Regions from separate parts of the Homo sapiens genome. Here regions 2, 3, 4, 5 and 6 are each linked to region 1. The links are contacts of gene promoters, found by promoter capture Hi-C in blood cells and fetal thymus (Javierre and others, 2016). All regions are on one chromosome and are shown on one strand. Each heading gives the region's core, a stretch centred on a gene start or on the middle of the fragment in contact. The rest is flanking DNA. Distances are from core to core; before and after follow the strand shown. Region 1 holds the start of EIF2AK2 (eukaryotic translation initiation factor 2 alpha kinase 2). Region 2 has its middle 12 kb from the start of RMDN2. Region 3 overlaps PIRAT1 (PU.1 (SPI1) induced regulator of S100A8 and S100A9 alarmin transcription 1). Region 4 overlaps PIRAT1 (PU.1 (SPI1) induced regulator of S100A8 and S100A9 alarmin transcription 1). Region 5 holds the start of PIRAT1 (PU.1 (SPI1) induced regulator of S100A8 and S100A9 alarmin transcription 1). Region 6 overlaps RMDN2 (regulator of microtubule dynamics 2).

Region 1 (3,957 bases), core at 840-3,339:
CCTTTTCTGTCTCCTTTCCTGGTTCATCTTCAACTTCTTTTCTTCTATTTTTTTTTTTTTAACCTTTTCTATGGTTCTAACTTCCTCTTTTCTAGATATTCTAGCATCACTGGGCCCGGTCCTTAGACTTGCTCTTTTCTACTTGGACTCACTCCCCTGGTGATCACCTCCAGGTTTGTGGCTTTAAATTCCACGGACACAATGATGGTTCTCAAAAGCACGCTTCCACCATGGACTCTCTCCTGAACTCCCAACTGCCTCTGTCCAACCTGCTCCCTCCTAAAATGCCCTTGACTCTATTCCTTCTGCTGTCTTGGCCTGGTCAATTTCTACTTCCTACAGATTTCAGCTCAAAATCCCAGACACTCCTTCACAGGCTCTTCCACAGTGCTCATCCCCTTTATTAAAATTGCTTATTTAACTATTTTCCAAAATAGAGCATGAATTACTACAGGTAAGGGACCAGGCTCAATAATGAATGAGTGAGTACCAAAATATCTCCAGATACCCCATCCAGGACTTGTCACCTGCTTTTCTCTACATTTATAGTGCAATATCTGCATTCTCTCTGTACCCACCAATATCCACTCATCTATCAGGATCAACACAGCCTTCTTTGATGCTGGAGGGTCAGCTAGTATGGGCTTGCCACTCCACCTTGCCCAACCTTCAACACAGCCCTGACTGCTTTTTAAACTAATTAGTGAGCTCTTTGGGGAGCAGATTCTACATCTTATTCACTCATCTGGAAGAAACCTCCATCATAATCACTAAAAAATAATATTTGTCCATCTTACTAATGCCCAGAAATTATTTTGGCTATGCCTCCACTTCCTTTCCAGCAGACTACATACAGCCTGGCCAACACGGTGAAACCCTGTCTCTACTAAAAATAAAAAAATTAGTTGGCTGTGCTGGCGGGCACCTGTAGTCCCAGCTACCTGGGAGGCTGAGGAAGGAAAATCGCTTGAACCTGAGAGGCAGAGGTTGCAGTGAGCCCAGATCGTGCCACTGCATTCCAGCCTGGCGACAGAGTGAGAATCTGTCTCAAAAAAAAAAAAAAAGAAAAGAAAAGAAAGAAAATGTCACCAGGTGATAACTACTATGTTGACAACCGAAGTAGTGGAAGGGGGAACAGCAAGGGCAGAGCGGGGTTTCTTGTATAGGCAGGTTGTTTGAGGAAGGCTGCTCTGATAAGCTGGCATGGGAAGCAGTGCAGGATAAGGGAGGGATTTCCCCATGCAGTTATCTGGGGAAGAAGCTTTCCAGAAAGAAGAAACAAGCAGTGCAAAGGCCTAGAGGCTGGAGGATGCTTGGCTGTGCACCAGGAACAGCAAGGAAGCCAGCGTGGCCGGAGTAGGGGGTGCGAGGGGCCTTGCCTGTGAGCCTTAATAAATGTTTATAGGATTCTGATGAGACAGGAAAGCTACGGGGAAGGTCGGAGCAGGGGAGAGTCTGGTTCTTACTTAAAGGAACATTCCAGATGCTGAGGTGTGGAGAAGAGGTAGGGGGTGGAGGTTCAGGGGTGAGGATACGGAGTGGGAACAGGAACTGCGGCCAGGCAATTGGGAAACTACTGCAACTCTCCACGGAAGAGATTTTTAGCCAAAGATTGTTCAGCCAGTCTATGAGTATTTCAGGCCTCCGTATTTTCCATGTGTCAAGCCACTAGGCCTATTCGTCTTCCACTAGACCCCGCCCCACAACTGCTGCCTGGGAAATATTTGTTACTTGCACTGATAAAAATTCTTCACGGGAAGGAAATGGCTTTCAGTCCCCACCCCGCTCCACGATCCTTTCCCTGGATTTGGGGAGGGCCCCACACCCGGGCTGCGGACCTGGGCCTGCTCTCCCAGTGCTGACCCAGCCGGGGCCAGGGGCTTCGGATCAGCGTCCGCGTCCTGAGCTGGGGACGCAGGATTGGCGAGTCCCGCCCCGGCTGGGCCTGCAGCCCCTCGTACGTGGCCCCCCGGCCCCCGCTCCCCGCGCTCCCTCGGCTGCCCCCTGCCCTGCTCACCTGCGCCGCCGCCGCCGCCGCCGCCGCCGCCGGCCGGAGACCCGCGGCTTCGGGAGAGCTGGTTCTCAGTTTCGTTTTCCCCTTGGACTCCGCCTTCCCTGCAGCCGCCCGGCCCCCTCTCGCACAAGCCCTCGTCTGCTACGGGATTGGGGTAAATTGGCGCTGGATCCAGAGTGCGCGCGAGAGGCACTGGCGGGCGGGCTTGGCACCGGCGGGCGGGCTTGGCACCGGCAGGCGGGCTTGGCACCCACGTGCTGCCCCTGCACGGCCAGGACCCTGCACCCCCATCCCCCGCCCCCGGGGCTCCTAGGGTTCTCCGCTGGCCTAGTCCGCTGGCCGCACTAGGTTCTCGAATCAAGGGTTCCACTTACTCTCAACACAAATATTTGGGGTGGGGTTGGGAAGATGGATCTTACCAGCTCCATTCTACAATAGAGGAAACTGAGTAAATGAACTCACCCAGGGGTCCTGCCGCTCGTAAGTGGCAAAGCCAGGATTCAGTTCAAGTCGGGGCCTGTAAACACCAAAGCACTCTTTCCCTCTTGCCACACCGCGGCCCCCTCACCTTTACAAGCCTGGGGATCAGAGGCCTGGGGGCGTAATCTCCTTCACTCCGCTCCCACCCATCCATTCATTCATGAGCAGACACTTGCCAGCCGCTGTAAAAGCACCTGTGGGCCAGTCCTGCTGCTAAATAGAGACACCTGCTTCCTACAGTACCCCAGGGAGCTTCCTACCATAGTCCAACACCAGTAGTCCTCGATTTATAGAAATTCTACTCACCTGATGGACTGCGACACACTCCCAGAGTCACACAGAGTTCCAGAGTTCATTGGCACAGTGACTAATGAGTATTGAGGCACAGAGAATTTGGATTAACACAGGTAGTAAGCAGCGGAGTTAGAATTATAACCAGGAGTTTGTACTCTCAGTATCTTAGCTGGGATAAGAGAGGAAGGTGGTCCAAAGACAGACCTCAAATATACATTAAATATTATGCCTAGGCCGGCGCGGTGGCTCATGCCTGTAATCCCAGAAATTTGGGAGGCTGAGACGGGCGGATCACCTGAGGTCAGGAGTTCAGGACCAGCCTGGCCAACATGGCAAAACCCCGTCTCTACTAAAAAACACAAAAATTAGCTGGGCGTGGTGGCAGGCACCTGTAATCCCAGCTACTCCAGAGGCTGAGGCAGGGAGAATTGCTTGAACCTGGGAGGCAGAGATTGTAGTGAGCTGAGATCATGCCACTACACTCCAGCCTGGGTGACAGAGTGGGACTCCAATTCAAAAAAAAAAAAAAAAAATTACACCTAGGCAGGCATCCTCTCCAGCCTCCCTTCTCCATCCCCCAACAACCCCACATTGCAGGGTATCAACAACTAAAATCTACACTTTCCTTGTAGCTCTGGTCCTGGGCATAGCTTAAGTCCCCTATATGTAAAGCACTGGCGGGAGGTTTAGAAGGTAGACATGAGGCAGAGCCATCTTTTTGTGGCATTTCCAGGTGACAAGAAAACTCTGACAGTGCTGTGTGTCCATTTGTCAGCTTTGTGGGTGTGGGATGGCTGTGGCAGCAGCAATGGCAGTAGCAAGGACAAGTTTTTCTGACTTTTTGAGCCCCTGAACTGCCCAAGAGAGCTTAAAGAATGAAAAATGGCAAGCTTAAGCATGATCAGAGGACACACGCTTTTATGACTGTACCAGAAAACCCTCCTATTTCAGGGAGCCTCAGGGGTGATGTAAAAATCTGCCTTCTCTGCTGGGGAAAGATTTGGAAGGAATGATATCAGAGGGTTGGTGATGAGGTCCAGGGGAATGATATGATATGGGTGAACCTCTTGGAATGGGTAAAGTGTGAGCATATTGGACTCCCTGAGGAGCCCAATTCCCTACTGTCTGGGCTCTCAGCTGCAAAGCTTGGTGCTGCAGGCACCAGAATT
Region 2 (3,793 bases), core at 213-2,712, 760 kb after region 1:
CCCAGCACATTTTCTATTACTGTAATGAGGCTCCATGGTACAGTGGATACAAGCAGGGACTCTGGGGCTAGACAGGGCAAATTCCAGCTCTAGCACTTCCTGGCCAAGTGACCTTGGGCAACTGCATAGCCTCTAACCACCTCAGTTTTCTCATCTCTAAAACGGGAACAACAGTACTTATATCATAGGTTTGTTATGAGCATTAATAATACGTTGTCTGTTACATGGGAATCACTTAGCAAAGTGTCTAGTTCATTGCAGTCGTTATCATCATCATAAAGAAAACTTTACATAACTGTATGAAAAGGCTAGCAACCAACAGAAAAATTGTTGGTGAGCATTTTAAAATTGTGCAATATGTGGAGGGTAATTAGGCAATAACTACCACAATTTTAAACACTGATCTCTTTGACTCAGGAATTCCAGTTCTAAAAATGTTACCTACATATTTAAAGAACTAAATTGTTAATACCCTCCAATAAAGACCATCAGGGACACACCTGTAGCTGATTGTGGGTTGTCTCAGTAAGATGATATTAGAATGAGCAGATTATAGAATTTGGGTTTTAGTTGGATAGTTTTAGAGAGGTTCCACAGAACACTCTTGATACCGTCAGAAAGGAAGCAATTCAGTCATTGGGTATCTCAGTAAATCTTATCTATAGGGAAGGCAGGCAAGAGCTAGGATAAAGCTGTAACTAGTAAAGAATTAGCAGTCACTCATTTATTAAGAGAGGCAGGTGTTTGGCATTTTGTATTGCACAGCATCCTTGTCAGAACTGGATGTTCTATGAAAACAGTATGGGTTAGCTATAAGCATCACATTAGTTTATAATAACATTGAGGCCTACTACATCAGATCTGTTCCTGGATGACAGGCACTGATTTTATTTTTTCTTTCTTGTAATGTACTTGCAATGAGTCATTGTTTTTCATAGCCAGTGATGGAAATAACTTAGAGGTCTATTAATTCAGAGGCTAGTTAAAAATTACGGTATATTCTCACAATGAAATAGTTATCAAAATGAACTAGTCATTAAGTGAAAAAAATTGCAGAACATTATATGGTTTAAACAGTATATATAACATACACACGTGTTTATACATCATAGAAATTTGCATTCATATGCAAAAATATTGTACACTCAAAATCTTAACAATGTTTACCTCTGGAAAGCAGGATCCAGTGAAAAGGACAGGGTGCTTTATCTCTTTAATTAATGTACTTCTATTTGTTTTAAAATCTAAATGCTGAATTATTTTATTGATAAAAATGTCTTTAAATTATGATAAGCAAATATGGCTGGTTTTAAATTTTCAGTAACGGAATTCTTCTTGATTTGAAGTGCAAGCAATCCCAAAGCTTGCTCATGAATGCTATTATGTTGTAAAAATAAATTAATTTAATTTGGCCATTCCTCCGGGGACCTATTTGATTCAGGTAACAGTTCCCAGAGAATGCTGACAAGGAGATAATTTTTTCCATCTTTCCTTTGGGTGTAATATTAGCATTGGGGTTTCTGAAAGTCATTAAGGTAACTAATTGCTACTGAATTATATATTAAGCTTGGAAGAGAGTGAATCCATTCCTTCTTCCTATACAGATGAATATCAATAGTCATAAGGAATGAAAACCAAGACAACTGGATTTTAACAGGGAGGTGAGTCAAGTTCTTATGGTGAACTCCAAATATTTCAGAAATAGAGTCCTCTAATGTCAGTTCATTTATACATATGTAACACTGTGATGGTTAATATTGAGTATCAACTTGATTGGATTGAAGGATGCAAAGTATTGTTCTGGGGTGTGTCTCTAAGGGTGTTGCCAAAGGAAATTAACATTTGAGTCAGTGGACCGGGAAAGGCAGACTCACCCTCAATCTGGGTGGGCACCATCTAATCAGCTACCAGCACGGCTAGAATAAAGCAGGCAGAAGAAGGTGGAAAGACTTGACTTGCTGAGTCTTCTGGCCTTCCTCTTTCTCCCATGCTGGATGCTTCCTGCCCTCGAATATCAGACTCCAAGTTCTTCAGCTTTTGGACTCTTGGACTTAACACCAGTGATTTGCCAGGGGCTCTCAGGCCTTTGGCCACAGACTGAAGGCTGCACTGTCACCCTCCCTGCTTTTTAGGTTTTGGGACTTGGGCTGGCTTCTTTGCTCTTCAGCTTGCAAATGGCCTATCGTGGGACTTCACCTTGTGATCATGTGAGTCAATTCTTCTAATAAACTCCCCTTCATTTATACATATATCCTATTAGTTCTGTCCCTTTAGAGAATCCTAATAAACACATGGAATGAATTTATTTCTCCAAACTGCTGTCAATTATGCTCTATCAAATTCCCTTTTCCTACTGCATGGTGGGTTTCCTTGACCATGTGTCAGCCTGACTCCAGTCAGGAAATGTATGGAAATGTAGCCCAGTCAGCATCTCAATCATCTCAATCTCCAGTTCAGCAGCTCTCTCCCCTCACTCTAGATCAGGTTAGCCATATTCTCCATCACTCCTCTCCATCTTCACTGTCTTCACCTTCTCCCTTTCCTGCTCCTCTGCTATCAGTGCAGGTAGGAGGAGAAGGAGAAAAGACGGTTCCTCAGGTGGCTGCCCAGGGCATGCCGGGTGCCCTGTTTCTGGTTGGTTGCGATGCTCCCCTTAACCTGAAGAGTTGGGGATGGAGGTGGTCAGTGGGGGCATTCAGGTCCTGTATCCTTTCTCTTAGTCAGCACAGCTGATCTAATTCATGGAATCCTTGTACCCTGGGTGTGGACAGGTGGAGGGTACAAGTGGCCCTGACAGTGTGGACACATCCAAAATAGCACTCCTAAGCAATGGCAATCTCTTTCAAACCTTTTCAATCACCACCCAGGGGAAGGCAAAAAGCCACACTTTTGTGACTGCACATGCCCTTCCCCCCCTCCCTATAATGGCCCCCCAGCATTTCTGCAGCCCTCAGTCACATCTACCACCCTTGTGAGTGTGGGTACTGATAAGATCTATCTTCAGTATTTCTTGGGAACATTACTCTCTCCACTTGGTCACACTACTTGCCATTCTCCCCAGGGCGCTTCCTAGACTACAAGGCCTAGGTGCAGGAGAGCGAGCCCTGACTCCGCAGGCCTCCGACAGGAGATGTAGAGGATAGATCCCCTTCTTTCTTGCACTATCAGCAATTCTCTGGGCAAACACCCAACTCTTCACAAGCCCCACAGGTAGAAGAGGGCAGCTAGCTTCTCTTTTATAAGCACTGCCCTCTACTAGGGGGTTATTTCTTCCTGCACAGACCTGAGAACCAAGTTGGAGTGTGTGTTATTGGGGAAGGGGTCTGCTGGCAGTTGCTGAGATGACCCGTCTCCACAAGCCCATAGGGAAGTAGGTGTTGTTCTTTCAACTTACGGGCTGGTTATTTAGCAGTTCTTGTTTTCAGCTAAGGGTAGCATAATCAATCCCAGGAAAAACAAGAATGGACTCCTTTAGCATCTTTGCTCTTTCTGGGGGTTCAGGATCCCTATACTCTTTTTCTCTATCTGCTCAGTACCATCCTTTTGGTAAGATCCCCTCAGTGACTTGTCTCCAATTCTAGTTCTGCTTCTGATACAGGTTTCTCTGACACCCTGTTTGCAGTGTTTTTAGATGGCTTTTTTTTTTTTTTTTTTTGAGTTGGAGTCTCTGCCTGTGGCCCAGGCTGGAGTGCAGTGGCGTGATCTTGGCTCACTACAACCTCTGCCTCCTAGGTTCAAGCAATTCTCTGCCTCAGCCCCCTGAGTAGCTAGGATTAGAGGTGCCCGCCACCAT
Region 3 (4,280 bases), core at 1,293-3,792, 670 kb after region 1:
ACAGGACTATGCTCAGTCTGTCTCACTTTTTATCAGAGAGTGAAGGAAAAGGTATCCAATCTATAGGGAGATGCCCTGCAGATAGCAAGGCCAGCACTTCATGTCCAGTCTTTCAGAGCTTTGTCAGACAGTCGATTTTCCCTTTCTAATGCTGTGACTGGGATGAGAAGGCAAAACAAAAAGAATTAAAAATATAGTATTTCTTTCCCTACTTGGCCCAAAGGAAAGGTTCCGTGGGAAGTTGAAAAACAGATGGTCCAGGGCAAAAATCAACAAGTTTGACATCCAGGATTAAAAACCAGATGGCACTAAACAATCTTTAGAAGCCTCTAGAGGGGCTTCAAAGAAATTGCCCAAAACTCCATGTATGTTTCCATGAAGGCAAGTAGACTTAGTCATACATGATCTTATGATCTGTGGCCAGGTTCTCCTCCACCCAAAATTGTTCCCTGGGATGGGATCAAGCTAAGCACTTTGGGAAAGGAATGGGACCTTTTAGGCCACCAAGAACAGAGAATCCTAACATCTTATGGCTTTAATCAATGCAGTTGTTTCACTGAGTTGACTGATCAGATTAGGCAGCCGCCTCTAATCTTCTCAGGCAGGTCAAGGCTCATAGAGAGCCCAGCATTTGAGGAAACATAAATGTGGTTTTTAGTACGTATGCTGTTAAAGTCCCAGCACATAAACCTCCAGAAGTCACACTTCTCCGAAACCAGTCAGATGTAGAGGCATCTGAATAATGGCTCTTGTAGGGAACCCTGTTCCTGCTTCCTGTTCTTCAGCTGCTTGGAAAACATTGCTGGAACACTGGGATCCACTGAGGGAGATTCTTCCAGAAGTGTCCTGTGTCCCAGACTGTGACTTTTCTAACCAGCATGGACACAGTTGAAATCTAAGCTCCACTGCATCTGCTGCTGCCATGATAGAAACACTGGCATAGCATGTGCTAGGTACCAGGCCCTGGTCTAAACCAGTCACCTATGCTAAAGCACTTTATCATCACAGTGACCCTGGGGGGAGGGTGGTCCTTTGAGGGGACTGATTCATGGAGGTTAAGTAAGTTGGCCAAGGTCACTCAGGTGGTAAAGAGTGTATTAGTTTCCTGTGGCTGCCATAACAGAGTACCACAAACTAGGTGGCTTAAAACAACAGAAGTTTCTCTCTCATAGTTCCATAGCCCAGATATCCAACACTAAGGCATCAGCAGGGCTGCACTCCCTCCAAAAGCCCCAGGGAAAGGTCCTTCCTTGCCTCTTCCAGCTTTTGCTGGCACCAGGCATTTTTGGCCTGCAGCAGCCTCACTCCAGTCTCTGCCTCCATCTTTACTTAGTCTCTTCCGGGTCTGCAACTTCTTCTGTCTCCTATAAGGAGACACTTGTCATTGGATATAGGACCCACCCTGATAATCCAGGATGTTCTCATCTCTGAGAGCCTCAATGTAATTACATCTGCAAAGACCCTTTTGCCTAATAAGGTCACATTCACAGGTTCCAGGGATTAGGAGATACATGTATCTTTTGGGGACCACCATTCAGTTCACTACAGCTGAGCAGCTGGGATTTGACTCAAGCAGTCCAGCTCCAGCACGTGGCCTCCGACCATCACGCCATGCTCTCTCATGTGGTTACTTTTCACAGGTGTCAGCAAAATGCCTGCTCAATGATCTGAGATTTTTTTTCACAAATCATCACAGAGCTGAAATGCTCATTTTTCTGTGCTGCTACTCTGTCCATGTTCCAGAAAGGCAGCACATTAAGTCTACACCACATCACGCATCCCCTGACAGATGGAGAGAATATCAGCAAATCAGATTGCTTTCTAAAGAAAACAGAATCCAACTTTGCAAATGTTTAAAGCTTGCATATTTTCAAAATTTCAAGCAAAAGTAGAAAACCTCATTACCTCAGATCACGGTTGACAAAACTACCATTGACAAAGAATTATCCTACATGCAATGAAAACCCAATATAAGACAGTGAGTGATTGTCCAAAACGTGGGTGTTAGGTCACTACCCAGACAACAGCAGAGTTGACGGTTCTACCCTAGCTCTCTTTTGATGAGGGAAAACATTATTTTTAAATGAAGCCTGCCACTTCAGTGTAGAAAACATAAAGATGTGGACAGTCACCATTGTCATTTAAAGGGTGAGCTGTATTTCTTCTGAAGTAAAGTGATGAGTCCAGGCAGTACACTCACTCTATCAGATATGATTTGAAAAGCTGAAAAATAAACCTCTGACAATAAGATTTTAGGACAGAAATGCTGCCAGGGCTCGAAGTACATTTCAGAAGAATAAAAAGAAAGTAAACGATGCCAAAGGCCAGACAAACAAAAGGAAAATTCCTACTTCGTTTGTTCTCATGAAATGCCACAGAAAAATAATCTGTTAGGCAGCTCTTCTGGAGTCCAAGTTCTTGCGCTGTGCTCATCTCTTCTTTCTGTTAAAGCTCGGTGCTTTGCAAGCTGTCGTTAAATTGCTTACACGGATGGACGGGGCCAAGATGGTTTTCAGTCTAAAGCCAGTGAGAGTCTCAAGGCAGATTCTGAAGGCCTTGAACCACCTGAGCCTGGCCAGATGGATTCTTCCTTTCACTGTTGTGACCATTGCTTTGGTGTCAGAACCCTATGGGAGAGCTGAGTCCATGACCAGAATCCTCATGCCTTTCACAACTCCAATTAGCCAAGAGCATGGCACGGAGCAGAGGTGCTGGTGGGAGAAAACAACACATAGGTGAAAAACCTCGGGATTAGGCATTTCAAACAAGAGGCATTCATTTTGCCCGACACCCAGAGTTGCCCCATAAACAAGCCAGAAACTCAACCAGGCGGTGACGGAACAAGGAATGGATGAGTGACAAACTGGGCTGTTGATTCTGTTGTAACTGAGGCTTGACTGTATTAACAAGCATGCAGTGATTAAACAGACCAGCACCAGAATTTTAGCAGCTACCTTGAAGCCTGCTGACTGACACTGTCCCTGGAGCCCCTGTTATAATGAGGTCCTTGTGATAACTTACTCCCTTGGATAGAGTCCAAGACAGGCACGTGCCCTGTGGAATTCCACACTGTAACCAACCATACTTCAGAGAGATTCCAGAATAATGATGGTATTGCTTATTTAGGCTGAAGGTTATCTGCTCCTCCTCCTCCAGATCCCTGCCAGCCAAGGGAAGAGCATCTCATTGGTGTCAGATGACAAGGGTCTTGTTCCCTTTACTGGAATAAGCTTCTTATGTCATACAGACTCTGGAAGTCCTGAAAAGCCATCTGTCTTGGCCTTTACTTTAGGAAAGAAAGTATCATAACCTGCCACAGCAGTGGGGACAGCTGAAGCCGGGGGTTACTATTCGCCCTTGTTACTATTCATGGAGGCTCTTAGGGAAATGACCAAAAAGCTCTTTATGGCTCTTGCAATTAATCCTGAAATTCTGGTTGTCACTTGTGGGTAGAAACATATGGTTTACAAATGGGTTGATGATTATTATTTCAAGGAAAAACTAAAACATTATAATGAGAGTTATAACATAATGGTGGGACAGTATAAATAGGGAGAGAATTTGTAGTGTTTTCTTGTTCGTTTTGTTACATGAATAGACAGCTAGGGGAAAATGGCATTCTATGGGGAACTGATGGGATTTATTTAATATTTATTTAAATAAATTTATTTATTTATTTATTTAGACACCTCTTTTTTCCCGTCTAAGTTATAAACTAATTAAGAGATGGACAAAGAATAAGGTAAAGGAAGGTCAAAATATTACCTTGGGCAGGGTGCAGTGTCTCACACCTGTAATCCCAGCACTTTGGGAGGCCAAGGCAGGAGGATCACTTGAGTTCAGGAGTTTAAAATAGCAACATAAGAAGAATCTGTCTCTCCAAAAAAGAAAAAGAAAAGAAAAAAAGGAGGTGAGGTGGCACATACCTCTAGTCCCAGCTACATGGGAGGCTAGGGTGGGAGGATCACCTAAGCCCAGGAGGTCAAGGCTGCAGTGAGCTGTGATCACACCACTACACTGCAGCCTGGGTGACAGAGTAAGACTGTTCCTCAAAAAAATAAAAATAAAAATAAAAATTACCTCAGTTCGTGAAAACAGCAAAGATGTGTGGCATGACTAGCTCCATTCCCTGGAATTAGGAAATATCACCACACTTATGATGAATCTTACAAAACTTAAGCCTTCCCACTCAGGGAGGGCCACATAGACATGAGAAAGTAGAGCAGAATGTGGTTGTTTTCCAGGGGAAGCTGGCTTCTAATGAGAAGGGAGGGAGGGAG
Region 4 (4,348 bases), core at 814-3,313, 690 kb after region 1:
CCTCTCTCTGTCTCTCTCTTTCTCCTCTCCCTGTCTCTCTCTCTCTCACTCTCTCTCTCTCTCTCTCTCTCACTCTCTCTCTCTCTCTCCTGCACTAATTTTCCTCTTGTTCTTGGATTACTCCTATCAGCATGCTGGTATTTCTATTATTATTTTTTTTTTTTCTGAAAAAAAAAAAAAAAAAAAAAGAAAGAAACCTCAGTTTATCTTTCCACCCATCTAGTGTCCCACTTCTCTTGTTACAGAAAATTTCTCAAAGTTTTTGCCTCTAATTCCTCTCCTTCATTCCCCTTTTACACTCATTCCAATCAAACCTTTGTCCTCACCATTCCACCAAAAGTACTCTTTCAAGTTCACCAATGACCTCCACATTGCTAATTCAATTCTCGGTCATTATCTTACTTGACCTAGTAGCATAATGTGAAGTAATAGATGATTCCCTTCCCCTGGAAATCCTTTAATCTTGCTATGTTTAGGACTCTGCATTTTGTTTGTTTTCCTTCTTTCACATCAGTCACTTCTCAGTCTCATTTGCTATTTATTCCTTTTCTCCCCAAACTCTGGAGTACCTCAGAGTTCAGTCCTTGGATGTCTTCTCTTTTCTAGCCCTATTCAGTTTACTGATGATCCCATCCAGTCTGAAGCGTTTAAAGGCCCTTTGTAAGTTAACAACTCCCAAATGTATACCTGTAGCTTGTATCTCACTCCTAAGTTTCAAATTTATATATCAAACTGTCCACTCAACATCTCCAGTGGGCTGTGTAGTAGACTTTTCAAATATATCTTGTCCAAAAATGACCTCCTGCTATTTCTTATCAATCATGCTCTTCCCCATCTTAGTTAATGGCAGCTCCATCCTTCTGATAGTTCAGGCAAAAACCTTGGAGTCACTGTTGACTTCTTCCCCTCCCCTTGGATCTGAAAATAAAGCTCTGGAATCAGGGCAGTTGTTCCACTCAAATGAATAAAATGGTATGAACACAGAACAAAGGGAGCCTATGTTCTGTTAGGAAGGGGTAAGAGAACAAATAAGTGTGACATGAAACTGAACATGCCACATGGGAAGCTTAAAATGCTATATGGGTTGGAAGGTGGGAGAGCTAATGCCTAGAAATAGAGATTCTGATAGGCATCTAAAAGGCACAGGCTTCTGAGATGTTCTGAGATGTTCCTGAAAGTTGTGTATGATTGGATTACTTACAGTGGGGGTGAGTGGGAATTCCAGGCAGAAGGAGCAACTGAGCAAGACCCACATCTTCACAGTTAGCTCTGCCTTCCCCTGGAGTAGGACTCTTTCTGCCTACCCTGGCAATATGTCTCCTGGGAGCCCTTCGTAATGCCTGGACCCCAATTCCACCCCATCTTACCCGCCAACATAGATCAAATCACAGTTGCTCTGTTTCACCAACATTAACTTCCAAATTGTCTCTCACAGGCTTCCCGCTCTCAATTCATGTTACCCCCATCCCAGTCCACACTTCCTCTCCTATGTTGTGTCTCATTGCCTATCTCTTGGCCTTTGGGCTGCCTCCCCCTCTGTCCATTCTGTTCACTGCAGCCAGATTGACGGTAACAGCGATGATGACTCTTTTGAACAACATGTAAGAGCCTATTCTGCACCACGCCTTGCTCTCAAGGAGGCTTGTAATCAAGAAAAAAAAAAAAAAAAAAAAAAAACTTGGAAACATCTACAGGATACAGATGTTTCTATAAAACTTAACATAATACAACTGGCACAGGAGAAAAAATGATAAATTCTATCAGGGAGGGTGGGAGCAATTATAGAAATCACTCAAAATTTATATGTGGCTCCTCATCATCTGTAGAATTAAGATCTTCCATAACATGCCCCTAGCTACCCATTCTGCTTTGTTACCCCCCCAGTGCCCTTCATGTACCCCGCCTTCTAACCAAAGTGCTCTGTTTGCACATGGGCCCTGAGCCTTCCCTCTCCATGCTTGTGCTCTTGCTGCTCCATCTGCTTGCAATACAAGTGCCCTACCTTGCGTGTGTAAATGCTACTCAGTATGTAAAACAACACAGTGCCCTGCACATAACAAACACTAAATAGTGTCAGTCGTCTTCATCATTATCATCATCATTATTCTGGAAAGATTAGTTCAATTCTCACATCTCTTAATTTTTAAAGTCACTTATGGTCTTGCTTGTGTTGCAGACATACAATCTTATTTCCTTGCCTTTGAGGGCAGGGAGTGAGTCACATAAGATTATCTTCCCCTTTGGCAATAGAAAAGTACCTGGCTACACGCTACCATTAGCCAGGTACTTTTTGATTGCCAGAGGGAAAGATAATGGTGAATAGTGTGGAAAATGCTATTTGTTTTATCTGTTTTATTTCAATTCATTTCCCACTTATTATAAAATGAAATACTTAGAAATGACTCTTTTCACTTGTTGAGTTAAATGGCCATAAATTGAAGACCCAATCTAATTCAAATAGGATGGAGTGAACCTCTGAACTTCCTCAAAGAATGCCTTAAAATACAAAATGATTGAGTGAGTCCAACCTCAAATCACAGCTGATTCAAGATACCCTTTCTCCGTAACACAACTTACACCCAACAGTTGACTGGTTTAGTCAGAGGCAGTCACCCAGGGCTTAAACAGCCTGTAAAAAGAAGTTGTAAGGAAATCTGAGTATGTCAGTTGGATGTGGTTAATAGGGAAGAGGGTGTTCTGGATGGGGAGATATTGAATGACAAGGGTGAGAAGGATAATCTTCTGAGTGGAAAGAGGACAGGACACTCACTTTAGTTGGTGGCAGCCCCTTCTCCTTCTTCCCCCACTTCTAACATGGCCCCTCCCTATGTCTGCTCTCAGAATCCAAACCTTCTCCTTGGCTCTGCTTTATGAACAGTGTGGTGTTTGAGTTCTGTGTGTTGGATACAGTCAGGTCAACATAGCTTCAAGTCCTGGCAGCTTCACTCCTTCTGCAGTCTTGTACAGATCTCTGCTCTTACTGCAAGCCCACACTTCATAGGCATACGAAAATAATATACCCACTGGAGCCATCTACCATGAGTAGAAGTAGGATATGGCCAAGCTTTCATTCACTTGAGGAAGTGATTAGTACATGTTTCCCAGGCAAAACTCATAGTATTTGTTTCAGAAATTTAGATATTTTAACTTCACATCCTTCATACCCACCCCTTTTGGTTTCTTCTACCTAAATTTTGTGCAAAGACTTAAAAAATATCCACCCACCTCACCCCCATCCCCACACTCCCTTGTACTCTTTTTCTTGGCTTGGAAATTTAATTTTTTTTCAAAGCATGCTCCACTCTAAAATATAGTACATAGCGGAGATGGCGCTACGTAGAGAAAAGGTCATGGGCTTTGGGGCCACATAGCCTGGATTTAAATCCTGGCTTTGCCACCTACTTTCTAGAACATAAGAATGTGAGGTACAGATTGGGGAGCCCCCTTCCCTCCACCAATCCAACCCAATGCAAGGTTGGAAAGATTGCTCATAGCTAAGAACAGAAGGTGCCACACCGTGCCACAGAGTTTCTAAGAGGGAGTGAACCAACAGCACCTTTATGATGACTTCTCTCTCGTCTTTATTAAGGAAATGAGAGAAAAGAATAGAAAGTTCCCTTCCTGTGCAATCAGTGACTCCTGACTTGCCCCACCCCACCCCACCACCACCACCACTTCCCTCAACCTCCCATCTTAGTCAGGTCCTGGCTCAGCTGAGCACTAAACCACTGAACTGACAGATAGCCTGATGATGCAAGGGTATGGGAGAAAGTGGAGCAGAAAGGGTGAATGGGAGGTTGAGGGGTCAGGGAAGACAGCTTGGCTTCTTACCACTCAATGGAGGAACAAAGATAGAAACTTTCTCCATGTAGGTCAATCAAGAAAATAGTGTAGAAAGTAGCTGAGACCTAGGCCATCATGATATGGTCACTCCAAAACCCATCCATCAAGGATGGTGAAAAGAGACGGTGGTGAAATGGACTGAGGGGCGGACTTCACATGTGCAGTGAGGGTGGACAGGTGCTTCAGTGAGTTCCCTCCTTCACCACTACCAGCCAAAGAACCAATCCACGAACCCAGAGGAAAGCCCACCTATGCAACCAAGAGGTAGCACATTTTCTGTGGGTCAAACAACAGAAGAGGAGACTGAGCCAAGACAATCTGCCCACCACTGACAAACAGGCAAACACACAGGTAACTCCTTCCTCTATCACCTGCCCCAGGCACCAACATCAGTGTTGCTAGGCCTAAGACATAGATAGGATGGAGAGAGATGAGACCAACACTGTAACAATCAGACAAGACTACAAATCACTGAGTCATGCTAAATGTATTTGATGCACTGAGA
Region 5 (4,192 bases), core at 318-2,817, 720 kb after region 1:
GCAGTGAGGCCACACACTATTCCCAGCCCCTTTCTCTCTGAAAAGAGCCCTTTGTAACTTCTTTGAGAAGGAAACACCTCCGTCAGGGGAGGAACATTATTTGCTTCCTGTTAGAACAGACTTTTACTTAGGATCAAGCTCGGTGTCAGCCCCATCCCCACAGGGAGCAATAAGGGAAAGAGGAGGGAGGGGGCCGCAGACACTCACTTGTGGGGGCTGGTTTCGCAGGAACGGCTCCGGAGAGCTTGAAGAGGGGTAGGCTGCAGGCCCACAGCCGCAGTCTCTCTCAGCTAGAAACCCTCCTCCCTCCTCTGCCAGCCTGTCCTCCCCGGGCTCCGTTCGAAAGGCCTGGGAGATAGGGAGAAGGCTGGTCAGCCTGGGCGGTTAGTGGCTGGTTTAACACTTCCTTGCCTGCCAGCCCTTTCCCAGGAAGACTACAGCCAATCATTCATTCATTCAAAAGCTCTTTGCCAAGCACCTACTCTGTGCTAGGTCTGTGCCCAGCATGGGGACACAGTATTAGGCAAAAAAAAAAAAAACAAAAACCAGACATCCCCCATCTGCCCTGAACTTACAGTCTAGTGGGATAAATTAAACAAGGCACGCAAACACCTCTACAGCCACAAATGTGATAAGGCTCTAAGTGAATATCGCACATGACAGTGGCCCTGCTGAAGGCCAGGCAGAGGTTCCTTCTTGAGGAAGGACGTCTCTGAATCTCCAGAAGCCAATAGAATCTGTAGCAGCAGAAGAAAGGGTCAGGTTTCTAGAACTGCCCACTACGACTTTAGAAGCTGACGCATCTCTGTTATGCCGCGGCTGCGATGTTTTAAGTCCCCAAAGCCCAGAGCACATCGTGGAGCATGGAAGTGGTTCACTGAGAAGCTGAATCTAGTCCTGGGGCTGCTGGTGTGGAGGGTGTGTTCCGCTCTTGGGGCAGCAGCAACAGGTGCCGTGAGAGGCTCAGAGCTTTTGAAGCAGAAATGGCAATACTCTACATCTTCAGCAAATATTTGGGAGTCTTTTGTTAAAAGAAGAGCAGAATAAATATCTATGCCTCTTGTAAAACCCAAAGGAAAGCTCTCAGATAGGCTTCTTTAGGGCTATGACTATCTCTGCAGCTTCACTATACTGAGTTAAGTCTGTAGAGCATCTGTAACCCTAGGCATGTGTGTCCACAACCTCCACACGTACACAAGGACACTCCTACAGAGGACAGGCCGTGCGGACAGTTAGGGGAGGACAGTGGAGGCCGCTTCAGTTCACTTCGGTGCTTTGGATTCAAGTGTTTTTCTGTTTCATTTTCTGGGTAGCTGATTATTAAGCTAAACACTCCTTTGATGGTTGAAAATACATTAGTCCCTTTTCTTGCACGAATCTAATTCACCAAAGCCTATTAAAGTGCTTTTGGACCAATGAGGAAATTTAATGCTCAAGTATTTTATTCTGAATTCCAATTTTCCTTGTGTTATGATTTTACCTATAGGTGGTTGGGTTGATTGTATGGTAAAGATGAAAAAAAGCATATTTGGAAAGAACATGACAATTCTCAAGGTGTTTATACTACTTTACTGTATTTGATCCTTGCAACTGCCATGTGAATTAGGCAAGAAATATTTCAGTTTTACAAATGAGAAAACTTCTGTCCTGAGACATTAAGTGATATACTCAAAGGTCATATAATAATTTGTTTTGTTTTTATCTTGACTACCATACTCCTCTATACCACCTTCAGGACTCTGGAAGTCAGATATATGTGAGTTTTTTGTCAACTAAATTCATAGTTGTCTTAATATTCATCCCTTGCTAAAATTAAGGTGCAGAAATAAAATCTGTCTAATAGAGAAATATAAATCCATCTTTTGTCTGGATAATCAAATTTTACTATATTTTGTTTTAATCCTGAGAATGAAATTTTACAAATAGCTCAGGAGGTTTTCCCTAGAGTTCCAAATAAAAGTGTGTGGATCATATACACGTTCTGCTTAATCACATGACGGTTCCAAATTTTTAATTTCAATCCTTCATTACGATGAAAATTTTTGCGTTTTTTTTCCACCAGCTCTTTGTTTTGTTTTTCAATGGCTCAGGAAAGGAGAGGGGTGTGGGAGACTCTGTCTCTTTTGACAATCACCAGCGCCATCTACTGTCAAGAAATAAAATCGTGACTCATTGTTAACGCGTCAATGAACATTAGGGCTTAAAGAGGGAAAGACAATTTTATACCCCAGTACTTACTGATAAATATAAGTTCATGTACACATATTTTTATCTTATATTATTGTATTCTTAAGCAGCCTATAGGGAGAATACAATGAACTTAATATATAATTATTTATGTAATTCTTAAGAGCACTAACTTTGGAAGAGGATAAAAATGGGGTGAATTTCAGCTAAACCACTTAATAGCTACGTGATTTCTCTTACCCTCAGTCTTTTCATCTGCAAAATATGAACAATTATACTTAGAAGGTTGTTTTCTTGATTAAATGACATATGTAAAATTTACCCCAAAGCTAGCAGATCAAGGCAGCTATTGTTATACGACATTTATGGAGCACACGCTGGATATCAGCCTCTGCTGGGGGCTTGCTTCACAGCAATCCTGTGAGCTGGAGAGGCTCTGAGCTAGCAAGTACTGTGTCCAAGATTACACAACTAAATGAGAAGCATTTTTAAGTCCAATTTTCCATCTGATTTCAAAGTTGTTATCGTTTCTGCTATCTCACAGAGCATGGCTATGAATCCCCTTCTGATACATATCTGTGAAGGTTCATTTTAGGCCCACTAGGGAAGATCTGCTTTTCATATATTTATATGGGCTCCATCCTTTGTGGTCTGATGTGTGTAGCTCATTGTAGGGATGTGCCAAGTTTGCCTAACCACGCTATAGTTAAGAAAGTAACTTCAGGAAGACTCAAAGGATTTTATATGCAACCCTGATCATAACCCAAGATGAAAAGGATGATAAACCTTTTCATCTTGGGTTATGATCTACCACCCTCACAGCATTTTATACAGAATTCTCTGATACTGTTACCTACCATGTGATCGATAGTTTTGTTTTTTCTTTTCTTTTCTTTCTTTCTTTTTTCTTTTTTTTTTTTTTTTTAACAAAGCTGTCTCTCTTTCTGGAATAGAATTCCTCAAGGGCACAACTCATGCTTGATAAATCAATGAATAGATGAATGAAAAGTGATTACGTATTATAATCCCAGTGTGAAGTGATGAGGCCTTCACAAGGCCTTTGAAGATAAGGACCGTAAATTCTCCCTACACCAGCACGTGGTGATTATCCATCTGAGATTTACTGACTTCAGTTGAATCAAGTTGGCTAAAAGTTACCCTCAAGATACTTCTTTAAAGACAACCCACTTCAGAGTGCCAGTCTTTCCTCCTACACTAAATCCAAAGAGAATTTTTAAAATTCAAATTTATTCTCTAGAGAATTTAAGATTTTCTTGAGATTCAACAATAATAACAATTATAAACAGATAAAATGCATATATAAGTCACAAAATTGTATTGCTAAAGTGGATTTTATTTTTATTTGAGATGGAGTCTCGCTCCTTCTCCAAGGCTGGTGTGCAGTGGCATGATCTCAGCTCACTGCAACTTCCATCTCCTGGGTTCAAGCAATTCTCCTGCCTCAGCCTCCTGAGTAGCTGAGATTACAGGCTTGCATGACCACATCCAGCTAATTTTTGTTATTTTTAGTAGAGACGGGGTTTTGCCACGTTGGCCAGGCTGGTCTCGAACTTCAAGAGATCCACCCACCTCAGTTTCCCAAAGCGCTGGATTACAAGTGTAAGCCACTTTGCCTGGCCTAAAGTCGCTTTTTAAATCAAGGGTTCTCGCTGTGTATGGTGGCTCACACATGTAATCCCACCTCTTTGGGAGGCCAGAGGTTGAGCAGGAGGACCACTTGAGCTCAAGAGTCTGAGGCTGCAGTGATGAGCTAATGAGCTTGAGCTATGATGAAGCCACTGCACTCCAGCCTGGGTGACAGAGTGAGACCCCCCCATCTCTAAAAACACAACAAAACAAAAAAAACCTAAGAGTGCTCTGTCACTCATCTATTAAAAAAAAAAAGGCAACCTCACCGAAGTGTTTTGAGTATTAAATAAAATAACATATATAGAACACCTAGCAGAGTGCTGACTCACCTCATTCTTTCACTCAAAAATATATT
Region 6 (4,250 bases), core at 1,751-4,250, 770 kb after region 1:
GTCGAGGCTACAGTGAGCAGTGATTGTACCACTGCACTCCAGCCTAGGTGACAGAGCGAGACTCTAAAAAAAAAAAGCTATGTAAATGACTTCATACAACCTTTGAAATTATTCTGAAGGCAAGCAAGTACTCTGATGTATTTTGTACATTATTTTTAATGTGTCATTTTTCAAATTATCAGTGTTGAAGCACATTTGTTTTATGCTGTTATAAAACTCAAACATAGCTTGAACTGTTAGTCTTTAATTGTGTTTGTTTAAAACATCAGCTCCGTTGATTCTATTTTTTTCTAGTTAATTTTTGTGGTTCTGAAATAATATTTCAGCTTTGAGCATCTCTGTTCAGTCAGTACTCTCCTTCACCTCCTTGTTGATGCTTTCCAAATCTCCCACATGTTGTGGGTGCATCCAAGAGTTAGGAACAGGTTGTCAAAGGTGACAGTTTTCACTTCCCAGTTGGGTGATCACTGGGTAAGTGACTTGACACCTGTGTGCCTCAGTTCACTTATCTGCAAAATAATAATAGGACCTGCATGGAAGAGATGATTTGGAATTGGTGCAGTTCCTAAAGAAAGGGCCAAGCAAAATAAGACTTTCCCACCTGCTGAAACCTGGTCCTGTCTCAAGAATAAGTTCTCCTTCCTAGGTAGATTTTTACTTCTACTTATTTGCTTATTAAATGAAAATATTTTCAAACTAGGCTATATTTCTTAATGTAAAAGTCCAAGGTATGGGCAAAAGAAAGCAATCAGAATAGGAAGATTTCCTTTAATAGACCTCTATATCAGCGAATGGACATCCTGCCTGAATAATTTTATTGACAAAAATAAAGATGATTAAACTTGATGTGTGAATATTAGCTGGAATGCAGTTGTAATTAATGGGCATAGAGTGACTTATTTTTTTGCAATAAGCTTTCAAGATAATTTAGTTTTGTGATACAATTTTTTTGTAGAATACATTTACACATCTAGCAATAATTAGCTACAATTTCAGCTGAAGTTACAAATTGATTGGAATCTGTTGCTGGCATGTCTCCTGGATGAGCTGGGAGTGGGCAGATGGTTATAGTTCCCAGTTATACCAATTAGGTGAAAAAAAATTTTTTTAAGTTAATTCCAGGCAAATTTCTGTGAGGTAAAGCAGGCCAGATTAAGTACCAAGGCTTTCTCTGGAATCTTTGGTTTAAAAGAAGGAATTCTTAAATCTCTTGGATATAATATTCACTAACACCTGAGGTAATTTCTGGAAGATTATTTTAAAGTCAGTCCTTCTCTTTGACACTTAGGCCTGTAATGAAGTGTAGAACATCCAAACAGGATACTTTCTGTGTTCCAGGCATATACTCTAGTGAAATAGGAATCCAAAGACGTTCTTATTTTAAGCAGGCTTTTCAGAAATAGATTATGGCTGCTTGTTCTCTCAGACCCTCTTCCATAGGGCATTTGCGAGCCCAGAAATCCTAACCAGTAGACCACCAAGGAAGCATTTGAAACATTACATTTAGTTGGCCATTTGAAGTGTAAGAAACAATGCTTGGTAGAATATGTGGAATCACAGGATATAAAGCAGAGGATGGTGAATTTCGGGTATACAACCTAATTCAGAATTTTCATCTTACTGATATTTTTTCCCCAATTCACACTCCCAGCTATTTACTTTGCTTCCTATCTTCACTTCCTATCTTAGAACAGTGAAGCAATCAAAGAGAGCTTGCATAACCTCCCACCACTGCATCTACCCACCTATTTAAATCTCTGCTCACATAATCTGCCTTTTATGACTATGAATGAATGGTTTATGTTCCCATCAAAGGTCAACTCCTGTGCTTGTGCGATAGAGCCCACCTCCTTTGCCTTCTCAAGTTTATTGCTATGCAGTTTTCTATATGTCTACTTCATCAATTTTTCTTTTCTTTTTATGGACTCTTTTCTGTTGGCAAAAAAAACCTGTTATTTCTTGATCTTTTGGCACCATTTTCGCACTTAATAATGGCGTAATTTCTCTTCTATTTGTTTTCTATTTGCCCATCTGTTCTTTTTTCTCCTTTTCCTGCCTTCTTTTGGACCAAGTGAGTATCTTTAGTGTTCCATTTTTATCTCTATTATTGTCTTGATATGTATTGCCTGGGGTTTTTTTGTTTGTTTGTTTTTTAGTGGTTATTCTAGGGTTTACAGCTATGCATCTTTAACTTAATATGATAATTCTTCATTGTAATCTAAGACTCTTACAACAGTATACTTCCATTTGTCCTTTCCCACCCTTTGGGCTATTGTCCTACTTTTTGTAAATCCTGTGATGTAAACTTGGCTTTTGTTGATTGAAAAAGCACCTATATTTTTGTCTTGGACAAAGACATAAACAACATTCATTTACATTTATGTTTTTAATTTTAGAAACGAAAACCAAGAAATGCCTTATTCCACAAACAAAGAGTTGATACTTGGCATCATGGTGGGCACTGCTGGAATCAGCTTGCTGCTCTTGTGGTACCACAAGGTCCGTAAACCAGGGATAGCAATGAAGTTACCTGAATTTCTTTCTCTGGGTAATACATTTAATTCAATAACTTTGCAAGATGAAATACATGATGACCAAGGAACAACAGTAATCTTTCAAGAAAGGCAACTTCAGATACTGGAGAAGTTAAACGAATTACTGACAAATATGGAAGAACTCAAAGAGGAAATCAGATTTCTTAAAGAAGCTATTCCAAAGCTGGAGGAATATATACAAGATGAACTTGGAGGGAAAATAACTGTTCATAAGATAAGCCCTCAGCACAGAGCGAGAAAAAGAAGACTCCCCACAATTCAAAGTTCAGCAACAAGTAATAGTTCAGAGGAAGCAGAAAGTGAAGGAGGGTAAGTTTCTTTAAGATATTTCCTATGTTGAATTGGTTATTATCATTATTACTATTATTTAGGTATTTTCATTATGGGTTCCAGTCATATATCCTGCTGCTCACATAAAATGAAAAGGAGTGATATTTTGACTTAGATTATAATTAAAGTCATATTCAGTAGTCAGTATTTAAGCTAGTTTAGACCATATTGACAAAAGGAATATAAAAAACTTACTGGTAGCAGGTGGTATTATGTGAATATTGAGGAAGGCAGTAATTACTTGCCAAAGTGTATAACCTACTGTTTTAATGTAGCCACTCTGACTCCTTCTGAGAATTCTCTAGACCACTCCTGTTCAAAAGAACTTTCCGCAGTGATGGAAATGGTCCAAGTCTGTGCTGCCCAATGTGGTAGCCACTAGCCCCCTCTGGCCACAAAGCACATGAAATGTGGCTAATGCAACTGAGGAACTGAATTTTCCTTTTATGTCATTGAAGTTGTAATTTTATTTAATTGTAATTAAATTTAAATAGCCACTTGGGCTACTGGCTACTGAATTTTAGTGCAGGTCAAAAAAGACTTGAGAGTATATAGGTGACTCTGTCTCATCTTTGCATGGGTTAATCCAGTGGCTAGGTCTCTTTTCTTTTCTTTTTTTCCTTGCAGAAACCCTCAGCTCACCCGAGGGCCAATGGAAATTTATTAATTTTTTTGTCCTTTTCCATCCTTCCCCAAGTGGCTTTTCCTTGCAAAATGCCTGACATGACACCAGAGGGGAACCTGGGAGCGAGGGGCACCCCAAGGGGCAGCCCAGGGACTTAAATACAAGCTGGAGGGCAGGGCGCAGGTGGGACAGGCAAGAGACAGCACGAGGGACATGGCTTCTCAGGGAGACCAAAGACTTACTTTCTTGCAGGAAGCAGCCGTGCCAGAGGGCAGGGGACTAGGATCCTGGGTGCAGAGTGGGTGAGCAGAGAGGCCCCCAACCCTGGATGGAACCCACATTCCCCAAAGAAGTAGCAGCAGGGGATGAGGGCCTTCCCTGGTGGACTCCAGAGACAGAGGGGAGAGTGAGCCAGATGTGCTGCCTCAGGGAAAGGGAGGAGGTGCTAGCAGAGTGAGGGTTAAGGCTGGTGCCCAGCCTCTGGCACGGTGGGCCTTCCGCCTCCGCCTGACATGAGGACAAAGGGGCACAGTGGGCAGGCAGCGCATGGGTCTGTCTCTGGCAGGGCAGAGGGCGGCAGGAGCAGACTCCCTCCAGGCTCAAGACACAGGCCCAGCGCTGCTACCCACCCACCCACCCGCCGACTAGGTCTCTTTTCTGAGTCACAGTTTCAAATGATTTAAGATTATTTTAGATTCCTTCTGAATATTTTCCTTCCCTATTTTAAAACCAGTCAACAA

Evidence for each region. Contacts are between HindIII fragments. The CHiCAGO score rates a contact against its expected background, and 5 or more counts as called.
Region 2: a fragment that was not itself captured here is called in contact with the fragment with the promoter of EIF2AK2 in region 1 in 1 of 17 cell types (naive B cells); the score reaches 5.1 in naive B cells.
Region 3: a fragment that was not itself captured here is called in contact with the fragment with the promoter of EIF2AK2 in region 1 in 3 of 17 cell types (activated CD4 T cells, naive CD4 T cells and naive B cells); the score reaches 6.4 in activated CD4 T cells.
Region 4: a fragment that was not itself captured here is called in contact with the fragment with the promoter of EIF2AK2 in region 1 in 2 of 17 cell types (total B cells and M2 macrophages); the score reaches 6.0 in total B cells.
Region 5: a fragment that was not itself captured here is called in contact with the fragment with the promoter of EIF2AK2 in region 1 in 4 of 17 cell types (activated CD4 T cells, neutrophils, total CD4 T cells and 1 more); the score reaches 6.2 in activated CD4 T cells.
Region 6: a contact is called between a fragment that was not itself captured here and the fragment with the promoter of EIF2AK2 in region 1, in 3 of 17 cell types (fetal thymus, activated CD4 T cells and neutrophils). The highest score is 6.1, in fetal thymus.

What each region holds. Positions count from the first base shown.
Region 1 is chr2:37,154,891-37,158,847 of GRCh38, forward strand. EIF2AK2 (eukaryotic translation initiation factor 2 alpha kinase 2) reads right to left here and starts at 2,090. Exons shown (of 17, transcript NM_001135651.3): 1 at 2,018-2,090. RefSeq lists silencers at 1,880-1,999, 2,200-2,389 and an enhancer at 2,020-2,149. The HindIII fragment of the contact is 2,417 bases long and covers 1,260-3,676 here.
Region 2 is chr2:37,911,374-37,915,166 of GRCh38, forward strand. No RefSeq gene overlaps it. Among named protein-coding and RNA genes, the nearest start is that of RMDN2, 12 kb to the right of the region's middle. The HindIII fragment of the contact is 203 bases long and covers 1,362-1,564 here.
Region 3 is chr2:37,825,168-37,829,447 of GRCh38, forward strand. PIRAT1 (PU.1 (SPI1) induced regulator of S100A8 and S100A9 alarmin transcription 1) reads right to left here. Exons shown (of 4, transcript NR_110012.1): 3 at 3,766-3,871; 4 at 1,080-2,711. Among named protein-coding and RNA genes, the nearest start is that of PIRAT1, 49 kb to the right of the region's middle. The HindIII fragment of the contact is 1,371 bases long and covers 1,858-3,228 here.
Region 4 is chr2:37,846,425-37,850,772 of GRCh38, forward strand. All of the region lies in intron 2 of PIRAT1 (PU.1 (SPI1) induced regulator of S100A8 and S100A9 alarmin transcription 1), which reads right to left. Among named protein-coding and RNA genes, the nearest start is that of PIRAT1, 27 kb to the right of the region's middle. The HindIII fragment of the contact is 1,998 bases long and covers 1,065-3,062 here.
Region 5 is chr2:37,875,536-37,879,727 of GRCh38, forward strand. PIRAT1 (PU.1 (SPI1) induced regulator of S100A8 and S100A9 alarmin transcription 1) reads right to left here and starts at 328. Exons shown (of 4, transcript NR_110012.1): 1 at 208-328. The HindIII fragment of the contact is 8,395 bases long and covers 1-4,192 here.
Region 6 is chr2:37,926,866-37,931,115 of GRCh38, forward strand. RMDN2 (regulator of microtubule dynamics 2) reads left to right here. Exons shown (of 11, transcript NM_001170791.3): 2 at 2,397-2,864. The coding sequence starts at 2,413. Among named protein-coding and RNA genes, the nearest start is that of RMDN2, 3.7 kb to the left of the region's middle. The HindIII fragment of the contact is 4,176 bases long and covers 913-4,250 here.